2 separate regions of the Homo sapiens genome follow, and region 2 is linked to region 1. Evidence: promoter capture Hi-C in 16 types of primary human blood cells and fetal thymus (Javierre and others, 2016). All regions are on one chromosome and are shown on one strand. The core of a region is centred on a gene start or on the middle of the fragment in contact, and the rest is flanking DNA. Distances in the headings are between cores, read along the strand shown.

Region 1 (7,382 bases), core at 1,656-4,155:
ACATATATACACACACACACATTTATATATATAATGGAAAAACATATATATAGTTGCCCCTCCACATCCGTGGGCTCTGCATCCACAGATTCAACAATGGATGGGAGGAAGGTGGGGAGGAAGGGAAAAAGAAAGAGAACCAGGGTGCAAATCAAATAGAACAATGATAAGGCCAGGTGGCTGCCAGTTTGTGACTCTTGCTTTATGTCAACTTCTTAGTTTCTGTCTTTTCCCAGCAATTCAAGATGTGTTTAAGAACTTAATTCAAGGTGTACTTGGAAGTAGATCAAATGCAGGTAGAATTTCCATTGCCTTGCCACTTCTTTAAATCTAACCATACAGTTTTTATTGAGCACCTAACATACACACACAGTCTCTCATTACATCACACTAAAAATGAAATATATTAATAATTAGTTACATGAAACAGAGAGATACAACTTCCATAATGGTCAAAATGACTCTGAGATACATACTTACATTTTAGCTGTTTAAAAAAAAAAATCAGATATAAAGAGAATCACTGTTTACTGGAGCACTCAACATCTATAATTCCTTCTAAATGCAGAAGGTTAATGGGAAAGTTCCAGAACATTAGTCACCATTTCGTTAAAAAGTAGCACTTCTAGTGGCACACCCCTGTAGTCCTGGCTACTCCGGAGGCTGAGGCAGAGGATCACTTGAGACTGGAATGTCGAGGCCGCAGTGAGCCATAATTGCACCACTGCTCCAGTCTGGATGACACAAGACCCTGTCTCAAAAATAAAAATAAAGTAGCACTTCTAAGCCAAGTGCAGCTGTGCATGCTTGTAGTCCCAGCTACTCCTACTCCTAGCTATTCTGGAGGCTAAGATGTGAGGATCCCTTGAGGCCAGGAGTTGGAGACTGCAGTGCCTATTATTACACCTGTGACTAGCCACCGCACTCCAGCCTGGGCAAGCCAGACCCTGTCAGGGAAAAAAAAAAAAAAAGGTAGCTCTTCTAAAAGAATGGAAAGGAAATCATTCTGCAAAACTTTCCTTGGAGCCAGTTTTGACCTGTGAGGCTTCTGTCCCTATAGAGGTTATCTATGACACCCACCACGCCGCATCCAAGTTTATACCAATTCAGAAACGGAAAAAAAGTCTGCAGTCTTGTTAGCTGATTAAGTGAGAAGACATTGATTCAACCTGGCTCAGGTTGGCAATTGCTCATGGCTGCATTTAATAGAAATGTTAAACAATAAACATTGCATCCCCCTCCCCACATGGGACTCACATCACTTTAGTCACTCTATCTCCCCCTTATTCTCAGCCTCCCTCTGCATCGATTTCTCTCCCCAGTCTCCAGTTTTTGCACATTTAAAGTACGCCTATTTCTGTTTCCATTATTTTTCCTGCTCTTAATCAGGACTGAGACTTTTCAAAATTTTTAACTTCTCTGCTATCCCAGAGATTCTCCATACCCCTTACACTCTCATCCCAAGCATCTCACCCTTACCCTTGCCCCCACCCCCATTCGAGAACCTGGACTTCTCCCCAATCTCTATCACAGTACCCCCCGGTCTAAGACGCCCTTAGCTTTCCCTTCCCCACGCCTCCCCCATCAACCCTCCCTAAGCCGGCAGGCAGTCTCAGCCGTTCCAGAAATTGACAAAGAAGTTGCAGAGGGAGTGCCACTTCTCAGCGCAGTAGGTCTCCGTGAGCTCCGCGTTCCCGTCCAGCCCGTCGGGGTCGGGCCCGGTCCCCATGGGTCGCTCCTCGTTGGGGACCAAGGCCGCCTTCCTCTTGCCCTCGTTGGTCTTCCTCTCTGAGGGGTTTTCTTTGGGCGGTGCGCTTTGGGGAGGCGGGGTCCCAGCGGCTGGGCCGGACGCACGCTCCCGGGTCCGCCCCCGGTTCCGGGCCCGGGGCTTGGACTCCCCCGCGAATCCCGCGACGGTGGGGCGTGCGGGCGGGGACGCGCGGGGCACTAGCCGCAGCTCGGCGCCGTGGCCCTTCTTGCCCGCGCACAAGCGGGCCTGGAGCGGCGCGGGGTCGTGACAGGGCCTCCGCTTCTTGCGCAGCCCTCCCAGCACCTGCTTCCAGAAGTGCGCGCGGCGAGCGGCGTAGGCTGCGCAGCGCTCCGGATGCCCGCGGTAGGCGCACTGGTGGCGCGCCCCGTCCGGGCTCTGGCAGCGCAGCGCCAGCTCGCTGCCCGCTGCGGCCTCCGGGGCGGGCAGCAGGAGCTGCCAGCTGCACGCGTGCTGCTCGGGGCTGAGGAAGCGACCCGAGGAGCCGCCAGTGGGCCCGGGGACCGGCTCCGCCACGTTGCTAGCCGCCCCTTTCTCCCTCCGAGCAGCCGCGAGGAGGCAACCACTCAGCAGCAGCAGCAGCGACGGCGACAGCGACGCTCGCAGCTTCGGAGGAGTCATGCTCCGCGGTTTCCGCGCTCCGCTGTTCTCAGACCACGTTTGTCGGGGCTGGACCAGGCAAAGAGCATTCCCCAGGACCTGCGGACAGAGGCAGAGACTGCCACCAACTGAGCCACACGCAGCGCTTCGCCCAGACACATGCACCTGCGAACTACTCTTCCGCAGACTTTCTAGAATCTGCAGCCTGCGAGGAGACCCTCTGAGGAGCTTTCCTGGGGAAACTGCTTACTGTCTAAATAATCACTTTCGAACCATGTATGCATTGAGATTTTCTTCCCCTTGCAAATACGATAGCAAAACGATGCGTGATAATTGCCCCCTCTACCCCTTCCTTCATTTTCTCCCTTCTCCAACCTGCAATAAACTATCTACAAAATCATTTCAGATGATTCCTTGGAAACATGCACTTTACTACACTTTGAACTTACCGAGTTCTGGGAGAGGCGCCAAAGCCTTATTAGGGTAGAGGGAACGACTGCACGGGGGAGTAGTCTGTTTTAGCCGGCTCCCTGTGAATGAACGTGGTATCAATGGAACAGAAGAGGCCTACCCTTCTTCGCCCCTCCCCGATTTCTCTCACACTGGGAGACTTATCACCGCCGCGCTTCTCTCTCTCTCTCCCTCTCTCTCTCTGTCTCTCCAGATGGATGATGGAAGCGGTCCTGTAGTATGAAATACAAATCTTGTATTTTGCTTCCAATGTTTAAAATAATCAGGCAAAATTAACCAAGTTTTTCTTCTTTCATGTACTTAACCATCCAAAAAATAAAAATTAAACAAAAGATCTAAGTTTTAAAAGTTAAATAAAATGAAACAAAACAAACTTCAGTATTCTAAACTAGGCATTTTTTACACAATTATATCATTTACATTCTATTTCTCATATTCTGAGTTCTACATTTTTACCTATTATTTCCAATAGCCTTTCTTAAGACTCTCAATCTTAATAATTGTTACTACTAATAAAAATATAATATCCTAGTTTATTAACATACAATAGTGCCCAGCAGTTCACCCAGGAGTGGACATTTGGGCTTTTTATTATTTTTAGGTATTAGAAATCAGTTATAAGGGTCCTCCAAAAATTAGAAGTTTAAAAAAATTATTTGTATTATAGTAGTTGAACGGTAAGATTACCAATTGAAATGGTATAATAGTTAAGAATGTGAGACCAGCCTGGCCTGGTGAAATCCCGTCTCTACTAAAAATACAAAAATTAGCCAGGCGTGGTGGCAGATGCCTGTAATCCCAGCTACTCAGGAGGCTGAGGCAGGAGAATCACTTGAACCCGGGACAGGGCGAGACTGCCTCTCAAAAAAAAAAAAAAAGAGAGAGAGAATGAATGTGTTCTTGAATCTTGAAAATGTTACATTTAAGCAAAGCTGCTTTTTCTGGAGGGGGGGATTGTGTGTGTGTGCGGGGGTTTGTTTGTTTGTTTGTTTGTTTGTTTGTTTTGAGACGGGAGCTCACTCTGTCACCCAGGCTGGAGCGCAGTGGTGCTATCTCGGCTCACTGCAACCTCTGCCTTCCCGGTTCAAGCGATTCACCTGCCTCAGCCTCCCCAGTAGCTGGAATTACAGGTGCCTGCCACAACACCCAGCTAATTTTTAGTGGAGAAGGGGTTTCACCATGTTGCCCAGTCTGGTATCGAACTCCTGACCTGAGATGAGCCACCTGCCTCAGCCTCTCAAAGTGCTGACCAAGCAAAGCTGTTTTTTCTTTCTTTTTTTTTTTTTTTGCTCTTTTTAAAATTTTTATTTAGAAGCCTACTTGTAGAAGTTAGCATAATTTTACAGATTATTAGAAAAATTCAATTATTTTCTCTCTGCAAACAGTTATAATAGGTTAGGAATAATAGATTAGAAATGTACTACATTGCAAAAACAGTGGCCTATAACTATCTGTACATTTACTGTGCACCTTAAGGAAAAGAATTTGACAGTGTGCTATACTTACACTGCAGGTAACATATTTTTATTCTATCACACAAAACTGACCAGTGGTAGTGCTTGAATTTATAAATGGCCATTAAACAGAATATTTAAACTGAGATGTATATTTAGCATGCTAAAAAGTGAAAAAAATTTCAACTGAAGTTCTGTGGCTCATCAGTTCAAATGTTTCATGGCATTTTTTTCTTTAAACGAAAAATTTTGATATTGTAAAACAAATAATTTTACATAATAAATGCAAAAGTATAAAATTTTCTAAATTTTTAGAAAGAATATTTCCATTCATTTTGTCATGGGTTTTGTGTGGCTCCTCTTAATATATTAATGATATTAATAAGACACTGGTCCTATACCACTTTCAGAGTCCATCTTCAATTAAAAACTGTAACAAAAATAAACAGTATGTAGAGTAACACAAAGTAAATTAAATATACTAAACTCACACAACAGGTAGAATAAAATGAAACCAAATTACATAATGGCAGGTTATACATTTTAAAGACTCTCTTTCCACTTAGTCAAATAAGAAAGACATTGAAATGTTAACTTACTGATTTCTGTGGGGTTTTCCCCACTGGTTCAAATGCGAAAGTTTGATATAAATCTAATATTTTATTTCTGTACATTTAACATGATTCAGTATAATCTGCAGTCTCATGTATAGCTTGTCAATAATGCCATCATCACTGTATGTCAAACAAAAAACCTCACTGCTTACTAGAAATGCTAAACACTGGAAAAAATGGAATTTTATACATTTGTTTTCTTAAATTTTGACAGATGTTCTTCAAAAAATTAAAACTGCCTTCCACAAAATTTTGTGTGTATATGGCACAAGTTGACAGCCAAAAAGTGTGAATTCCATCAAAAAGGCACTGTTAACAATACTCAGAATAATCTGACAAGGTCTACATCAATGTCTGAGTAAAGAATAGGTAAATAGACAAACCCTTATAAAAGACAGCATTATTGTTTAAATATACTATAGCTATATAAAAAGAAATAAAGTGACACACAGAAATGACCCTTAGCAAAGCTGTTTTAAAACTTCAGAATATTCCATCATCTTTTAAAAATGTTCTCATTAATAAATGTGATTTTTTTTAATTGCAGAAGTTTATACCTCTGACTGTAATTTTTTTACACAAGTAAATATTTTACTTAAATACTTCCTCAAGATATCAGGAATTCTTATTATATTTCCTAATGTCCTCTTGCATATAGCATTTTCTATTACTGAACTCCTGTTAGTATTATATTTGAACAATTATAGTTTGGTTACTACTATAAAAACCAAAATACTTTAGAATTAGAAGAATATGTTTAAATATATAGTAGTATATATTAAATATATAGCAATGTATATTGACTTCAGAAAGGAAGTTTTTAACACTCTGGTAAAATCAGAGAAACTAGATAACTTGTCCAGGTTCACACATCATTTAGTGATAAAACCACTTACATCTTTCAGTGATCAGTGATCTTTATGTTTTGTCTTTGTATTTTACTATTAGTTATGTTTTAATTATACCAATTCAGGCTGGGCATGGTGGCTCACATCTGTAATCCCAGCACTTTGGGAAGCCAAGGCGGGTGGATCACCTGAGGTCAGGAGTTCGAGACCAGCCTGGCCAACATGGCAAAACCCCATCTCTACTAAAAATACAAAAAGTAGCTGGGCATGGTAGTGCACGCCTGTAATCCCAGCTACTCGGGAGGCTGAGGCAGGAGAATCACTTGAATCCGGGAGGCAGAGATTGCAGTGAGCCGAGGTCACACCACTGCACTCCAGCCTGGGCAACAGAGCAAGACTCTTTCTCAAAAAAACAAAAAACATAAAAATAAAAAAAAAAATTACACCAATTCAACTTATAATGAAAACCAATTTGTACCTATGAAGATTAGAAACATTAACAAGTTTCAAAAATAAGAGTAGCTAATTAATACATTTCACACTTGGAAGCCCTTTCTTTCCCAGAAAACTGTCTTTGTATATGTGAAGCATGGATGAGTAATCCCAGGCTTTTGTCTGTTGCCTTGGCATTACTTTTTGTTAACAACTACTGAACCGAATTGGTACCATTTTTAATGAAAGAATGACATCTTGTGGCATAATGCTCTAATTGCAATAAAAAAATTTATTATCTGAAAGCTGTAATTAAGAGATACTCCAGAGACCATGCTTCGCTGTCACAAACACTGTTCCCAGAGTAAAAAGTAAGGGCACATAGACATATTATGCAATATCAGAAAAGGGGAGTTATTTTTTAAAAAACTGTGGCATAATATGCATAACATAAAATTTGTTGTTTTAACTATTTTTAGGTGTACTCTTCAGTGACATTAAAAAGATTCACACTGTTCTGCAACCATTATAGCTATCCATCTCCAGAACTTTCTTTCGTCCTCCAAAACTGAAACTCTGTACCCATTCCTCCCTTCCCCCAGCCCCTGGCAACCATCATTCTACTTTCTGTCTCTGTGAATTTGACCACTCTAGATATCTTATGGTAAGTGTAATCCTACAGTATTTGTCCTTTGTGATTGGCTTATTTCACTTAACACAATGTCTTCAAGGTTTATCTGTGTTATAGCATGTATCTGAATTTATTTCATTTTTAAGTCTGAATAATATTCCATTGTATGTATATACCACATTTTGTTTACCCATTTAGGTTGTTTCCATACCTTGGCTATTGTAAATAATGCTGCAATTAACATGAAAGTGCAGATATCTTTATGAGGTGATCATTTCATTTTCTTTGGATATATGCCCAGAAGAGGAATTGCTGGGTCACATAGTAGTTGATTTTTAATTTCTTTACAAATCTCCATACTGTTTTCCATAATGGCTGTACCAATCTACATTCTCACCAAGAGTGTACAACCTTTTCCCCACATCCTTGCCAACATTTATCTTTTGACTTTTTGGTAATAGCCATCCTAACGGGTGTGAGGTAGTATCTCATAGTGGTTTTGATTTACAATTCCCTGATGATTAATGGTGTTGAGCACCCTTTCATATACCTGTTGGTGATTTT
Region 2 (7,382 bases), core at 1,313-3,812, 150 kb before region 1:
AAATATTTCTTAGACGCACACACAAGCAGAGTGTTATTAGACATTCAAATATTTGAAACATTTGAAATATCGGCATCTGAACAAGAAGAGAACCAAATGTGCTGCTCAGAGAAAAATCTCTCCACAATTTCTGGATTAATATGCAACTCAAAAGTCCAAAACTATCTGACAAAGCCTTCAAATATTTGCTCTTTTAATGACTTACAATTATGAATTAGCATTTTCTAATTTAGAAGAACATAAAAGGTAAGAAAAAGCCTGCATTTAAAACCTGACCTACAGTTCAGGGCATCCATCATCAAACCTGTTAAAAGTTAGAGAAACACATTAATGATAAGCCATAATGAGAGAATTTTACTAGGTGTCTCTGGGTATCACTAAATCACAACTGACTCCAACAAACCAAAAAAAGAGAGTTGCTCTCTCCCTGGGCACAAGTCATTGGAGTGGATTTTGTTACTCTACAGTTTTTATAAATAAGAAAAGTGTAATTCGGGTAAGTAAAATAAGCAAAGTCATAAGATTATACACACCAGAAGCATACCTAACTCACGTCTTCACAGTTCTAATTCAGACTCTTTGCTTCATACCATTCCTTCTCATAATCAGAGCCTGTAGTGTGCTTTTGATCTATTGCAAGGCTCTAGTTATTTAAACCATCAACTTAAAGGAATACTTATTCTAGAACTCTTACTGAGCTGATGGCTACCAACTAACTAAACTTCCTACACCACAACTAGGCATGGTTGTTCAGCTTACATTAAAAAAAAAAACAAAACCAACTTCCTGCTATCCTACCAAATTGTCTTCTTTCTGCCACCTAGAGAGAGCATTCAATACAGTCCAAAGCAAGGCATCTTTGAGTCCAGCGCTCTCTTTATTCTAATGGCACTCTATTCCTCCCTAGACCAAAGTACCAATTTTTTTCCCTACCCCACAACCTACACTCCCTCCCCAGTTCCAGACCTGGACACAAGATAAGGAGCATCCAAATACTGGATCTTTTTTTTAATACCTCTCCTTTTTTTTTTTTTTTTTTTAGAATTAGTTGAAATTTTATTAACATGTTGTCCATAATTAGTTCACGAAAATGAATGAATTTTACCTTGTGAACATTATTAAAATACTTTCCAAATGCAAATTATGATTTGCCCCAAAAATGCCCCAAACTTTATAAATGTCCTGTTAAGATGGATTACCTCTTCTTAAGCCTTAAACCAACATTGAAGTTTAAGTTGAACTGAGGGTTCATATTCATTCTATTTGCCAGCCTTCAAAAGTCAATAGAACTATTTCCACTAGATGGCTGTCTTTACCAAGAACTGTAAGAGCTATGCCAACTTGCAGCAGTTTTCAAGTTTTAAAGCTTACCTTTTACAGAGGCAAGCATATATGCAGCCATTTAATAGGCTCACTCCTACAAAATGTTCATGTATTACTTTATTTGTTCACCCCCGCATTGCAAAAAGTCAATATGATAAAAATGTAATGTGTTCTAGAAAATAATGAGAGAAATTTTATTTGTTTCAGGCTGAAAATTTTCTAAAACATGTAAGGAATTTTGCCCTGGAGACTGAAAGACATATATAAAAATTATCTCAGTGTAATTGTTTATATTGTCAGATCAAAAGTTACTTGTTGGTTATAAAAATTGTGTTCTTTAATATTTAAGAAAAGAGATTGGCTATCACTACTTATATTTGGAATTTGTTTCACACCTTTCTCTAGGTCATAAAGGTATTTTAAAGTTAAAATATGATACATTGAATAGAATTTGTTATAAGCTACAATTTCTACTGTATCAAGGAAATTGTTTCTTCCACTCACATGTTTTGTTATTTCCTTAGTATTTGATTCCTTGTTATTTGATTAGTACAAAAATTCAGCACCAAGTGCAGAGAGGATTGGTTGGGTGGTTGGTTGTTTTTCAGTAAACTTTTTATTGAGGTATAACAAAACTAAAGAAAAGTGCACAAATTGTAAGCATATAGCTTGACTGATGTTCGCAAAGTGAAATTAACATAAACGTTTTTGTGCAATTGTATATTTTACCTTTTTAAATTTTATTTGCTATTTGTTTAGTTACATCCAAATAACCAGCACCTAGATCAAGAACTAGAACACTACCAGCCGCCCAGACGTTCCTAATCACCTCACCGAAGTGGTGACCATTATTCTGACATCTAATACCACAGAGATGGCTTTCGCCTGTTTTGAAGTTTATATGACTCATCCCACTTGTTTGGCTTTTCATTGTGTTGATGAGAATCATCTACTTTGTTTTCACTGCTATGCATCACAACTTACTTATTCATGATCATTTGTGTGGTGTCCAGTTTGGAGCTATTATGAATAGTGCTGTTATGAAGTTTCTATATATACACTGAATCAATATGTGTATGCATTTCTTTGAGTGAGCATATACTTAGAAGTGGAATTGCTGAGTCATGACATTTGCATATGTTCAGCTTTAGTAAATACTGCCAATTTTCTGAAGTAGTTGTACCAATCCACACTCCCACAAGCAGGATACGAACTCCACTATTCCATTTCCTCCTCAGCACTTGGTATTGTCAGTCCTTTAAACAGTAGCCATTCTGGTGGGTATATAGTGATATCTCATTATAGTTTTAAATTGCTTTTCCCTGAAAACTAATGAAATTGTTTATATGCTTATTGGTTAAGAATGTTCCAATCTTTTCTTCATTTTGTATAATATTTTCAGGCTAGGTACAATGGCTCATGCCTGTAATCCCAACACTTTGGGAGACCAAGCTGAGAGGATTGCTTGAGCTCAGGAGTTTGAGGCTGAAGTGAGCTATAATTGCACCACTTCCCTCCAGCCTGGGCCATAGGGCAAGACCCTGTTTCCAAAAAAAAACACATATTTTCTATCTTTTCTTTATTAATTTGTGTGAGTCAGTGGTAAGATATAAATATATTATAATTATCTTCTACTCTGGGGCTTGACCAGTTATGGTCTTAACATTATCTTTGATGAGTAAAGTTCAGTTTATTAATTTTATCTTTTATGGTTAGCACATTCTTTAGGTCCTCTTTTTAAAATCTTTGCCCAGATAGTCATCAGACTATCCAAAGTCAGTGTGAAGGAACAAATTCTAAAAGCAGCAAGAGAGAGGCAACTAATCACCTATAAAGAAAATCCTGGCTGGGTGAGGTGGCTCACACCTGTAATCCCAACACTTTGGGAGGCAGACGCAGGCGGAGGCAGGTGGATCACCTGAGGTCAGGAGTTCGAGAGCAGCCTGGCCAACATGGTGAAACTCCATCTCTACTAAAAATACAAAAATTAGCCAGGCATGGTGGTGCGGCCTGTAATCCTAGCTACTAGGGAGGCTGAGGCAGGAGAATTACTTGAACTCAGGAGGTGAAGGTTGCAGTGAGCCGAGATCACACCACTGCAGTCTGGGCTACAGAGCAAGACTCCATCTCAAAAAAAAAAAGAAAATCTCATCAGACTAGCAACTTCTCAGCAGAAATCTTATAAGCTAGAAGAGATTAGGGTCCTATTTTCAGTTCTCTTAAAGAAAAGAACTGCTGGCAATTAGCCAGGCATGGTGGTGTGCACCCATAATCCCAGCTACTTGAGAGGCTGAGGCAGGAGACTTGCTTGAGCCCAGGAGGCGGAGATTGCAGTGAGCCAAGATCACACCACTGCACTCCAGCCTGGGCGACAGAGTAAGACTCCATCTCCAAAAAAAGGAACTGCTGGCCAAGAATTTTTTATCCTACTAAACTAAGCTTTATAAATAAAGAATAACTAAAGTATTTCCCAGACAAGTCAATGCTAAGGAAATCCATCAACACTAGACCAGTTGTACAAAAAATGTTCAAAGGAGTTCTAAACATGGAAATGAAAAGGCAATACTCATCATCATAAAAGCACACAAACGTATAAAGCTCACAGGTCTTATAAAGCAATTTCACAATTGAGACTACAAAGCAACTAGGTAACAATTAACATCATAATGGGAAAAAAATTCATATATCAATATTAACCTTGAATGTAAATGGACTAAATGCTCCACTTAAAAGACATACACTGGAAGAGTGGATAAAAAATAAAATCCAACCAAATACTGCTTACAAGAAACCCACCTAATGGGTAAAGATATTTACAAACTCAAAGTAAAGGAGTGGAAAAAGACATTCCACACAAACAGAAAACAAAGAAAGCAGTAGTGGCTATACTCACATCAGATAAAACAGACTTTAAACCAACAACAGGAAAAAAAGACAAAGAAGGTCATTATAAAATGATAAAAGAATTCAACAAGAAAATGTAACAATTCTAAATATATATGCACCCAACACCAAAGTACCTAGATTCATAAAACAAATACTACTAGACATAAGAAAAGAGATAGACAGCAATACAATAATAATGGGGAATTTCAACACCCCACTGACAGCACTGACAAGGAAGTTTGTAGCTTGCCTACATCAAAAAGACAGGAAGATCTCAAATTAACAACCAAATGTTGCAACTCAAGGAACTAGAAAAACAAGAACAAACCACACCGAAATCTAGCCTAAGAAAAGAAATAACAAAGATCAGAGAAATTGAGATCAAAAAAAGAAACAAAGGATCAACAAAAAGTTGGTTATTTGAAAAGGTAAACAGGCTGATATACTCCTTGCTAGGTTAATCAAGAAAAAAATAGAGAAGATTCAAATAAGCACAATCAGAAATTATAAAGGAGACATTACAATGGACAATACAGAAATACAGAAGATCATCAGAGACTATTATTAGCACCCCTATGTGCACAAACTAGAAAACCTAGAGAAAACAGACAAATTCCTGTAAACATACAACTTCTCAAGATTGAACCAGGAAGACATAGAAATCTTGAGCAGACAAATGGCAAGTAGTTAAACTGAATCAGTAATTTTTTAAAAATCTCCTGACAACAATAACAAAAATCCAGGACAAGAGGGATTCACAGCCAAATTTTGCCAGATGTACAAAGAAGTAGTACCAATCCTACTGAAACTGTTCCAAATGCTGAGGAGGGAATCCTCCCTTACTCATTCTACAAAGCCAGTATCACCCTGATAACAAAGCCAGGCAAGGACACAACAAAAAAAGAAAACTATAGGCCAATATCCCTGATAAACATAGACGCAAAATCCTCAACAAAATACTAGCAAACCAACAGCACATCAAAAAGAACATCATGATGGGTTTTATTCCAAGGATGCAAGGATGGTTCAACATACACAAATCAATAAATGGGATACACCACACTAACAGAATTAAAAACAAAAATCACATGATCATCTCAACAGATGCAGAAAAAGCATTTGATAAAATTCATTATTTCTTCATGATAAAAGCCCTCAACAAACTAGGCATCAAAGGAACATATATCAAAATAATAAAAGCCGTATATGACAAACCCACAGCCAACATCACACTGAATATAGAAAAGCTAAAAGCATTCTCCCTAAGAACTGGAACAAGACAAGGATGCCCACTTTTACCACTCCTATTCAACATGGTAGTGGAATCCTACCTACGGAAAGAAATAAAAGGCATCCAAATTAGAAAGAGGAAGTCAAAGTATCTCTGTTCACTGATGATATGATCTTATCTCTAGAAAAATCCTAACACTCCTCCAAAGAGTTTTAAATTTGATTAATGACTTCAGTCAAATTTCAGGATACAAAATCAAGATACAAAAATCAGCAGCATGTCTATCCACCAATAAAATCAAGCTGAGAACCAAATTAAGAACTCAATCCCTTTTACAGTAGCTAGAAAAATAAAATAAAATACCTAGAAATACATTTAACCAAGGGGGTAAAAGATCTTTATGAGAAGAACTACAAAACACTGATGAAAGAAATTGTAGGTGACACAAACAAATGGAAAAACATCCCATGCTTGTGAATTGGAAAAATCAATATTGTTAAAATGATCATACTATCCAAAACAATCTACATATTAAATGCAATTCCTATCAAATTACCAATGTCATTTGTCATGGAATTAGGGGAAAAAAAATCCTAAAATTCCAATGGAATGCAAAAAGAGCCTGAATAGCCAAAGAAATCCTAAGCAAAGAGAACAAAGCTAGAATAAAGCATCACCTTACCTGACTTGAAATTATACTACGACGCTATATTAACCAAAACACCATGACACTGGTATAAAATAGACACATAGATCAATGGAACAGAACAGAGACCAGGAATAAACGACATCTACAACAGACAAAGTCAACAAAAACATGCACTGCGAAAAAGACACACTTTTCAATAAATGATTCTGGGAACATTGAATAACCATATGCAGAAGAAGGAAACTGGACTCATATCTCTCACCATATGTAAAAATTAACTCAAGATAGATTAAAGACTTAAATATAAGACCTGAAACTATAAAAATCCTAGAAGAACACCTCAGAAAAACTCTTCTAAATGTTGGCCTAGGCAAAGAATTTCTGACTGTCATCAAAAACAAATACAACAAAAACAGATATAGACACATGGGACTTAATTGAACTAAAAGCTTCCATATAGCAAAAGAAATAATTAACAGAGTAAACAGGCAACCTACACAATGGGAAAAAAAATGTTTGTAAACTATGCATCTGACGAAGGGCTAATATCTAGAATCTACAAGGAAATCAAACTCAACAAGAAAAAAATAGATAACCCCATTAAAAATGGGCAAAAGACATGAACAGATATTTTTCAAAAGAAGATTTACAAGCAGCCCACAAACAGGTAAAAAAGCTCAACATCACTAGTCATCATTGAAATGCAAATTAAAACTACAATGAGATACCATCTTACATCAGTCAGAATAGTTATTATTAAAGAGTCAAAAAACAGATATCAGTGAGAATGTGACAAAAAGGGAATGCATATACATTGTTGGTGAGAATGTAAATTGGTACAATCTCTATGGAAAACAGTATGGAGATTTCTCAAATAAAACTGAAAATAGAACTACCATTCAAACCAGCAATACCACTAGATGTCTACCCAAATGAAAAGAAATCATTATATCAAAAAGACACCTGCACTCATATGTTTACTGCAGCACCATTCACAATAACAAAGTCATGAAATAAGTCTAAGTGTTCACCAATAGATGATTGGATAAAGAAAATGTGACATATATATACCATGGAATACTATGCAACCATAAAAATAATGAAATCATGTATTTTGCATCAACATGGATGGAGCTGGAGGCCATTATTCTAAATAAAATAACTCAGAAACAGAAAGTCAAATATAGCATGTTCTCACGTCTAAGTGGGAGTTAAACAGAAGGTATACATGGACATCAGAGGGCAATAATAGACATTGGAGACTCCAAAGGGTGAGAGGGGCCAGGTGCGGTG

Evidence for each region. Contacts are between HindIII fragments. The CHiCAGO score rates a contact against its expected background, and 5 or more counts as called.
Region 2: a contact is called between a fragment that was not itself captured here and the fragment with the promoter of FGFBP3 in region 1, in 2 of 17 cell types (activated CD4 T cells and total CD4 T cells). The highest score is 5.6, in activated CD4 T cells.

Annotation. Positions count from the first base shown.
Region 1 is chr10:91,906,581-91,913,962 of GRCh38, forward strand. It overlaps FGFBP3 (fibroblast growth factor binding protein 3), which reads right to left and starts at 2,906. Exons shown (of 2, transcript NM_152429.5): 1 at 2,818-2,906; 2 at 4-2,467. The coding sequence starts at 2,389. The coding sequence ends at 1,613. FGFBP3-AS1 (FGFBP3 antisense RNA 1) reads left to right here and starts at 1,549. Exons shown (of 2, transcript NR_199602.1): 1 at 1,549-1,669; 2 at 2,317-2,768. RefSeq lists a silencer at 1,779-2,348 and an enhancer at 2,252-2,546. The HindIII fragment of the contact is 14,773 bases long and covers 1-7,382 here.
Region 2 is chr10:91,757,450-91,764,831 of GRCh38, forward strand. No RefSeq gene overlaps it. Among named protein-coding and RNA genes, the nearest start is that of TNKS2-DT, 37 kb to the right of the region's middle. The HindIII fragment of the contact is 2,396 bases long and covers 1,365-3,760 here.